2 separate regions of the Homo sapiens genome follow, and region 2 is linked to region 1. Evidence: promoter capture Hi-C in 16 types of primary human blood cells and fetal thymus (Javierre and others, 2016). All regions are on one chromosome and are shown on one strand. Each heading gives the region's core, a stretch centred on a gene start or on the middle of the fragment in contact. The rest is flanking DNA. Distances are from core to core; before and after follow the strand shown.

Region 1 (4,787 bases), core at 593-3,092:
GCAAATACTAAAACAAAAGCAATTATTTTCAAATCATTCTCTCAATCTTACATTTCACTTTTCTATATCTTGTCAGTGAATTTTAAGCCACTTGGAGGCAGAGATCAGTGAATTGTTGCCTACATAACAATTCTAAGAATAAACTTTTTCTCTTGGATAACGTTCTTCAGGCCATGAGGTATGCTCACCTGGTTCCCTCTCCAACTCTCTCTCTGTCTGAATGAAGAGTTCCTTTTGCTTCATGCAAAGTTTTGGGGATGACCACTGAGTCAGAGTGGATACAGTCTGAAGAGGATGAAGAATAGCAGTATGAGGCAGTGGTGATGCCAAACAGCTCTGAATGCTGACTGGTTCTAGGGAATGCACCTCTCTGCCCTCTGAGCTGCAGGGACAGGGAGATGAGCTGGCAGCAGCTGCCTCAGAGATAAGGATGTGAGACACAAACACCTAAGGAATTCCTTTGGACTTCCATCACCCCCCTCCATCCAACTTTATCAAAAGCGAGGTGGTGTGGGCAGCTGGCTCCTTTCAGCCTGGGCCCACCACATGGTATGCTTTCCTGCCTTCACAACATGCCCTTCTTGTAGCTTGATGGAAACTATGGTGAGGATCTTAGTCTGTTAGGGCTGCTATAATAAAATACCAAACAACAGCAATTTACTTCTCATAGTTTTGGAAGCTGAGAAGCCCAAGATCAAGGTGCCAGCAGACTCAGTTTCTGGTGAGGGCCCGCTGGCTGGTTCATAGACCATACCTTCTCACCATGTCTTCAAACGGAGGAAGGGGTGAGAAAGCTCCTTAAGGTCTCTTTTATAAGGGCATTAATCCCATTCACGAGGGATCCACCCTCATGACCTAATCACCTCCCAAAGGCCCCACCTCCAAATACCATCACATTGGGCTTCAGGTTTCAACATATGAATTTGGGGGGATCATAAACATACAGTCTACAGCAGGTTATAAATGGTATTTTCACTATGGGACTCAGGAGCATCTGAATCCTGTCCTACCCATCTCCCTTTAAAGGAGATACATAAAGCAACCCCTCCTTTAGCAAAAATTTTCTGGGCCTCTGGCTTCTTCCAAACAGGGATAGCTCAGTGTTATACACTAAGTAAGTTGTTGCATGAAAAATAAAAAAGAAAAGCCCCTGCACCTGTCTTTCTCAACAGACAACTGGCTGAAGTTTACAACTAGGCAGTATCTACTCCACTTAGTTTAGATACACTACTTAACTACCAGAGAGTTTCATCCCTTTTCATTTGCTCCTTTACTCAGTAACAGCTCTCAAAGATGGGGAAGGAAGAGAGGCATATCTAAGTTTTTAATATTAGTCTAATTTGCCAACTTAAGCTTTCAAATACCACTGAATAAATGACAAGTAGATTCACTGAATTTAGAGGGAGAAACACAATACTTCTTTAGGTTTTGTTTCAGGGGGATCAAGTTTTAAGAGGCAGTGAAATGAAGTCAGGTTCAACTGTTCCAAATTTCTAGACACGAGCAAAGCTTAAGCCATGCAACAATGTATTGCTTTTCTAAGGATTATTAATAATGCATTTGTAACTACTCAGAGACTGGCAATAAACTTTCAGAGAGTGAATAAGAATGTAATCTGTCCACAGCAACATAGACAAATTACTTTGATAAATTCTTTACGAGGGTGCCTCATCTCCTGCAATTCTTGGATTGGTTACAAGTCTATAGTTAATCCTTCAATAACTCCCACAAGCACCTCATTACTCATAATACTGTGACATCCTGAGTTGTAAAAGAGGTGCTGTTATATAACACAGGCACTGTATAGCAGCCTTAGGTTATGAATATTAAGAGACAATCTCAAATGAGATAATATCAATAAAGACCTCCTGTCGTCTCTACCCAAGAAATAAACTAAAGGAAGGCAGTGTCCTTGCAGGCATTTTGACATCAGGGATGGTAAGTACAGGCACTGTTTCCCTTTCAGTTTCATGATTGTCATCCCTCTCACCAAGCCATGACTTTAGAACTATGTTCACGGGTAAGACTGACTCAGTAATTTTACTTTCTCATACTATCATTTTCTGGCTTTTGCATTAAGGTTATAGTAATTTCATGAAGTGAATTGTGGAGCACTTAACTGGCTAGTTTGGTCCATTTACATTTACTGTGCTTACTGACATTTGGATTTATTTCTGCCTTGTCCTACTTATCCAGATTTCTCTATATCTATTTTCCCCTTCTTGATTGCCTTCCTTTGGACTGAGTTTTTTCTTTCTTATTCTAATAGTTCTGTTTTACTGGTTTGGAAGTTATGAATTCTATGTCTTTTAGTAGTTTCCTTGAAATTTTGCCATGCCTACTAAAACTTGACTATGCCTAAGTTAATTGATATATTTTCCATCCTAACAATACAAGGAATTTATAAGACTTTGATTCTCTTCATCCCCTCCCAACTTAACTGCTATTATTGTCTAGTATATTTATTCTGTGTTGTTTTTCATTAACCCCACATATTAGACATTATTATATGTTTCATACAGAAAATGTTTGCTTGGGTTGACTACTATGTTTGCCAATTTCTTTGCTGGCTATTCCTTCTTATATTTAAGACCTTGTTTCTCAGAAGAAATGTTCTTTTTCCTGAGGCATATCTTTTAGAAGTTCTGTAAATGAATGTCCATCTGTGAAAATGTTCTACTTTAAAAAATATCTGAAAATGTCTTTATTTTACCCTCGTGCTTTAATGATTATTTGATCAGATCTTTAATTCCAAGTTGCTGGTTGTTTTCTATCAGCATTTTAAAGATATTATTTCACTGTCTCCTTGATTCTGTGGTGGCTGTTGAGAAGTCAACCATCAGTTTAAATATTATTCCTTTATAAGGAACATTTTCCTCTGGCTGCTTTTAGGATTATCTCTTTATTTGCTGTTTTTATAACCAGGCATGCATGCAGTTCTTGTTGTTTATTTATTTATTTATTTTTGAGAAGGAGACTCACTCTGTCAGCCAGTGCAGAGGCTGGAGTGCAGTGGCATGATCTCGGCTCACTGCAAGCTCCGCCTTCTAGGTTCAAGCAATTCTCCTGCCTCAGCCTCTTGAGTAGCTGGGATGACAGGCGTGCACCACCATGCCTGTCTAATTTTTATATTTTTAGTAGAGATGGGGTTTTACCATGTTGGCCAGGTTGGTCTTGAACTGCTGACCTCAGGTGATCTATCCACCTCGGCCACCCAAAGAGCTTGGATTACAGGCGTGAGCCACCACGCCCAGCCCTTATTATTTTTGAGACTCACAGTATTCCCAGAATCTGAGTATGCATATCTTTCATACATTCTAGAAAATATTCTAAGCCATTATGTTTTCAAATACGTCTCCCCCATTGTCTCTATTCTCTCGTTCTTGAACCCCCACCTGTACTTATGTTAGGCCTTCTCATACTAGCTTCTGTGTCTCAATTACCCTTTCTCATTTTTTTACTTTCTTATTTCTCCATAGTATATTCCAAGTAATTTCTTAAGCTCTGTTTTAGTACATTGATATTTTTAAAGAAGATGTTTAATCTGCTAGTTAAGCCATCCACTGAATTTTAAATTCCAATAATTACATGTTTTTAATTTTGTAAGTTGTAGCTGGGTCTTTTTTCAAGTTGAGTAGTCTATCGTCTCATAATCTTCCTCCCCTATTTCCATCTTTTGTTTCAGTATTTTTATATAGTGTAACAGACTGTCTCTAAAATGGATGCAACAATACTCTGGCTCCAAATGCCTTCTCAGAACCTTGCCAATCCTCATCAAGAAATGAAATACATTTTCCCTTCCCTCAAGCCTGGCTAGGCCATGTAATCTCCTTAATGAGTAAAATATTGTGGAAGTGATGCTGCATGACTCTGAAGGTAGGTTAGAAAGGATTATATGACTTCTATCTGGTTCTCTCTGCACACACCCTGGGAACCAATTAACATACTGTGAAGAAGTCAAGGCCACATGGAGAGGCCACATTTGGGTGTGTGGTTGATAACTCCAACTAAGGTCCCATTCACAGCCAGCATGAACCACCAGAAATATGAATGAATGAGACTTCAGAGTATTGCAGCAGTCAGCTGTCAAGTCACTTCAGCCTTCAGGCCATCTAGCTGAGGACCCAGACAACATGGAACAGAGACAAATCATTCTTCCTATATCCTAAGTCACTGACCCACAGACTCCATGAGCATAATACATGGTTGTTTTATGCCACGAAGGTCTGGGGTAATTGTTAAACATTAATAGATTATGAGAATATCAAGTAGTTCATATTCAGTATCTGATAATTCTAAGTTTTTGGCAGTCTTAATCAATCAATCATCAATCTCTTTTTTTTCTCCTCTCCCTTTTGCTGAGTCTTGCTTATCATAGCTTGCTTTCTTATGTATTTGGTAACTTTTTACTGAGATCACATATTCGACTGACGTTAATATGCAAGTATCTTGAGGCACCTTGGTTGAGAACATTTTCCTACCAAGAGAATTTCCATTTGTTTTAGCTGGGTCCCAGAAGGTGTTACCAACTGGAACTATTTTTATTTACATGGCATCTTAGAGTTATTCATATTGCATATTTAATAGGAATCAAAACCAAAACCACAAGAGGGCAGGCCTATGGTTTCCAATTCTCAAGGGAAGCCTTTGTTGTCACTATTTTTTTCTCCACTAAGAGCCACTACTGACCAATAGGTTTGTTCACTGGCTGCCTTTGTTATAGATGAAATTTTCCTAGGTACATTCATTCAACCTACAAACATTTATTTAATAATTTTATTTATTTT
Region 2 (4,787 bases), core at 1,353-3,852, 530 kb after region 1:
GTGTGCTAAGCTGAACCAATAGCCACCTTGTCTAACGCTGTTTCTTGAGGAAATATGCTTCAAATACTAAATATCAGATTTTTAAATTAATCGCTGGAATGCTGGAACACAACTTCTTTCTAAATTGGGGTTATAACTCACATATAAACTCCCCTTAATTATGATGAGAATTAATAAAATTTTGTAACTGTAAGTAAATCTTATCTAAAAGATAAAATCTTTTTTTTTTTTTTTTTTTTTTTTGAGACAGGGTCTCACTCTCACTGTACTCTCACTGGAGTACAGTGGCACGATCCTGGCTCACTGCAGCCTCCACCTCCCAGGCTTAAGCAACCCTCCCACCTCAGCCTCCCGAGTAGTTGGGACTACAGGTGTGCATCACCACGCCTGGCTATTTTTTTTATTTTTTGTAGACAGTGGGTTTCACCGTGTTCCCCAGTCTGGTCTCAAACTCCTGGCTCAAGCAATCCACCTGCCTTGGCCTCCCAAAATTCTGGGATTACAGGCATGAGCCAGCACGCCGGGCTGTTTTAAGCTCTTACAGTTACAATCAGCCACTTTTATTCATACATTACTTGTGAAGAGATTTTTTTTCCCCTTGCAACTACAAATGTCAGCTGACTCTTTTCTCTGTGGCTGATTTATGTCAGAAAAGGCACATCTCAAATGTATACAGTAGTGAAGACTTCATCTCTCCTTCATAGGAGCTAATTGAATATGGCGCCTCATCTTCATCCTGGCATGTGGGCATTGAGTGTAAGAAAAAATAATAGTCACTAATGACAACCTGAAGTGGGTGCTGGTTACTAGGTTTGGGATAGATGGCTCCATAGAAGAATTTAAGATTATATTCAACTTCACAGATGAACATGAGGCAGAGGCGGAGAGAGGTCGGAGAATAGCCTTGAATTTGAGAAACAAAGGGACATTTCTCAGCAAATAAGAAATAAATGGCTTCTTTCATCCTAGAGGCTGTTATGGAGAAATAGAACCCCTTTATTTGTTAAACAAATATCCCAAATGTGCAGTATGCTTTATACAGGACCACAGGTAAACATATTGGCTATGGTATTCTTAACAAAACCCATTGCAGCTCTTCTTAAAGCATGGCCTTCTATATATCCATATATTTGATTAGCCCAAGGGGAAACAGCCCAGGGAAACACTATCGTTAGAACACATACTTCATAAAAGAATGGATACCCCATATTTAAAATATTCTTACCCCATTTCCCTGTCCAGTGCATGTGGATGTGTTGCCTTTGTTTCACTCTTGCACCCACCTTGGCACTAAACTCCTCTTCTTCACCAATTCCTGAAAAAAAAAATAGGTCACAGCAAGTTTTTCAGAATTTGTAAACTTATTGAACATTTGGGACATTTTTTTAGGAGATACTACACAGCACTCCAGCATTTCTCTTATCGCTTTTCCTTCTCCTTTACTGTTTTCATCAATGTCTTCTCCTTCCTTGTTCAATTTAATTCAGTATGCCCCTCTGTCTGTTAGGACAGGCTGGGTTGTTCTCTGGCCAAAATAATCTGAACACTAGGGCCTTAATACAAACATTTACAGAGGAATGAGCCTTTCATTGATGTACTTTCAGAGTAGTTATAGAGATTATCTAAGCCTAAGCTTCACATTTATATCTTTTATACCATGGATAGTTATTCAGATACTAAAAACATTGTAACAAGGTGGACTTTACGGTTTCCTAAGAGGTAAAGTTAACTTTATTTTGTCCTAATGGTTCCTAAATTAGTATTTGCTTCTAAATCAAAAGATAACTTTAAAAAATTCAGATATGTGAGCTCTACTTAAAAACATTTGGATTCGGTGGACTTGATGTGGGGTCCATGGCTCTACATTTTTAACAAGCTCCCCAGGTAATTATCCAGGTTTGAGAACCACTCCTCCAGTTCAGGGGTCAGCAAACCTGTGAGCTAAATTCAACCAGTCACCAGTTTTTTAAAATAAAGTTTTACTGGAATGCAGACACGCCATTTGTTTGTGTATGGTGTGGGGCTGCTTTTGTGCTATAATGGTAGAATTGAGTAATGTGACAGAGACTAAAGACTGAAATATTTACTATTTGGTCCTTTATAGAAAAAGCTTGCTGATCCTACTCTTGTCTGTTTCATAATAATTTCCAGAGTCATGTTATTACTTGTGATGGGAACTAAGTAAGGCAGTGTAGATGACTGTTAATGAAGGCAACACCCAGACTGTCGTCTTCACAAGGTGATCCTTTTTAATACATACAGCCAAATTATTTTTTTCCTGAGTTACACTGACCCCTAATGGTAGAAATGTTAAATCACAGCTGCTTGATCACAGTTTTCCCCTATTGTTAATTAGTTCCTAAAATTAGGGTCATACTTACAGACTTTGTAGTAGGAGACTTTAGAAGTCAGAGTTCACTTGGTAGAACTGAGCAGGACTAAACAGCCTGGGAGAAGGTTGGCAATTTTGGTGAGAGCTAGAATCCCTTCCTTTTGCAGAGTTCCTTTGTCTTCAAAGACTGTTACTCAATGAAGCATTTCCAATTATACAGGTCATTTATTCCAAAGTGATAAATTTTATCAGGACATTATGACCATTTGTGATGCCATGTCTATCTCTAAAGTTGAAGCACAATACTATCGATATAGTCAAAATTACATTTGCCTTCACTATGATGAACTGCGAAGAAAGGTCACAGAGGAATCTGTATACATGTAAACAGATACTGAGATGGTTACCAATGGGGATCACACACATGTTGGCAATAATGAGATGGCCGAGGTGAAACCATTGGTTTTTAACCTTGACTACTGATTAAAATCCGCTGGGGAGCTTTAAAAAATTAATGATGTTCAGACCTCAACTCCTGGAAATTCTGATCTAATTGGTCTAGGGTGAGGCCCAGGCAGCAGTCTTTATTTTTTTAAGTTCTCCAGGTGATGGTAATGTGCAGCCAAGGTTAAGAACCATTTTTCTACAGTAGTGCTTCTCAAATTTTAATCTATATTCACATCACCTGGGAGATCTTTTTAATCTGCAAATTGTGATTCAGGAGGTCAGTGATAGCATGTGAGAATCTGATTAACAAGCTTCAGGGTGATGTTGATGCTACTGCCTGAGGACCATGCTTTGAGTAGCGAGGAATTAGATCATCCCTAGCCACAATTTTTATGCAGTCTCAGTGTTCTGAGATCCTAAAGTACATAAGCATCACCTGGGAAGTAACTAAACATGCAAAATTGTCAAGGTCCCCAAATTTTTACCAAATGTCCCAAGTGATTGTGAGATTCATAGTCTGAAGACCAAATACACACTACTCTACCCAAATGATATTTATTCTACCAATCCCATTTAAAAAAAAATGGCAGGCCGGGTGCGGTGGCTCAGGCCTCTAATCCAGGACTTTGGGAGGCCAAGGTGGGTGGATCATGAGGTGAGGAGTTCAAGACCAGCCTGGCCAAGATGGTGAAACCCCGTCTCTACTAAAAATACAAAAAAATTAGCCGGGGGTGGTGGTGCACGCCTGTAATCCCAGCTACTCGGGAGGCTGAGGCAGAAGAATCGCTTGAACCCAGGAGGCAGAAGTTGCAGGGAGCCGAGATCGTGCCACTGCACTCCAGCCTGGGCGAGAGAGCGAGACTCCGTCTCAAAAAAAAAAAAAAGACAGTAGCATTGTTTATCAATTTATAGGCTGCCCGATCAAATGTAGAGACATTTTTTCTTATTCCAGGTGAAAAGACAAATTACCAAAATGTAATGGCTCAAACCAACAGTAATTTTATTATATCTCATGATTTTGTGGGCCAGAAATGTGGGCAGAGGTTGGCTGGGTGATTTTCTCCCCTGTAGTGTATACAGAAGTCACTTAATTTCTAAGTAGTGAATGCACTAGTCTGAAGAGTCCAAGATGGCTTCATTTTACATGTCTTGGTACTCTGGTTGGAAAGCTGGGCCCAGCTGAGACTGTCACCTGGAATGCCTACATATGACCTCTTAATTTGGGCAGTCTCAGGTTAGTAAGTCTTTACATGGTGGCTCAACACTCCCGAGTGTTCCAAGACACAAGAAGTGGAAGTCGCCATTCTCTCAAGACCTGGGCTTGGAAACTGGCACAGTGTCATTTCTGCCACATTCCACTGGTCCAAGCGGTCAGAGTTCACTCAGGTTCAAAGTGAGGAGTCATATACAGGCTTGCTTCATGGCCATGCAACCCCATGTGCAGTAACGCAGGGCCCAAAACTCAAAAGGGCCCCATACTTGGCTTAATGCTCTGCTGTAGCCATCTTGAAAATATTTATAATTTTTGAATAAGGGGCATTACATATTCATTTTTCACTGGGTCCCACAAATTGTGTAGCTGTCTTAGCTGTCTTTTCTATGGGAGGACTATTAAAAAAAAATGTGGCCATCTTTAGTAAGTTATAAGCCACCTGCCAAATATTTTATTCTCACTATATTTCTGTATTAAAAGTTATTCTTTCAAAATGCAGACTGAAGTACGTGGGTTAAATTCAGCATGAAGAAAAACAGGTTATGAGGTTAGAAATAATGTCTTTTTTTTTTTTTTAAAGACGTAGTCTCGCTCTGTCGCCCAGGCTGGAGTGCAGTGGCGCCATCTCGGCTGCAAGCTTCGCCTCCCAGGTTCACGCCATTCTGCTGCCTCAGCCTCCCGAGTAGCTGGGACTACAGGCGCCTGCCACCACGCCTGGCTAATTTTTTTGTATTTTTAGTAGAGACGGGGTTTCACCGTGTTAGCCAGGAAGAAATAATGTCATTTTTTAGGATT

The links. The method cuts DNA at HindIII sites, captures the fragments that hold promoters and counts their contacts. A CHiCAGO score of 5 or more calls a contact.
Region 2: a fragment that was not itself captured here is called in contact with the fragment with the promoter of TMEM108-AS1 in region 1 in 2 of 17 cell types (megakaryocytes and endothelial precursors); the score reaches 12.0 in megakaryocytes.

The regions. Positions count from the first base shown.
Region 1 is chr3:133,254,176-133,258,962 of GRCh38, reverse strand. TMEM108-AS1 (TMEM108 antisense RNA 1) reads left to right here and starts at 1,842. Exons shown (of 3, transcript NR_110812.1): 1 at 1,842-1,938. All of the region lies in intron 3 of TMEM108 (transmembrane protein 108), which reads right to left. The HindIII fragment of the contact is 5,600 bases long and covers 1,512-4,787 here.
Region 2 is chr3:132,724,021-132,728,807 of GRCh38, reverse strand. It overlaps NPHP3-AS1 (NPHP3 antisense RNA 1), which reads right to left. Exons shown (of 11, transcript NR_002811.2): 2 at 1,226-1,315. Among named protein-coding and RNA genes, the nearest start is that of NPHP3-ACAD11, 4.0 kb to the right of the region's middle. The HindIII fragment of the contact is 980 bases long and covers 2,113-3,092 here.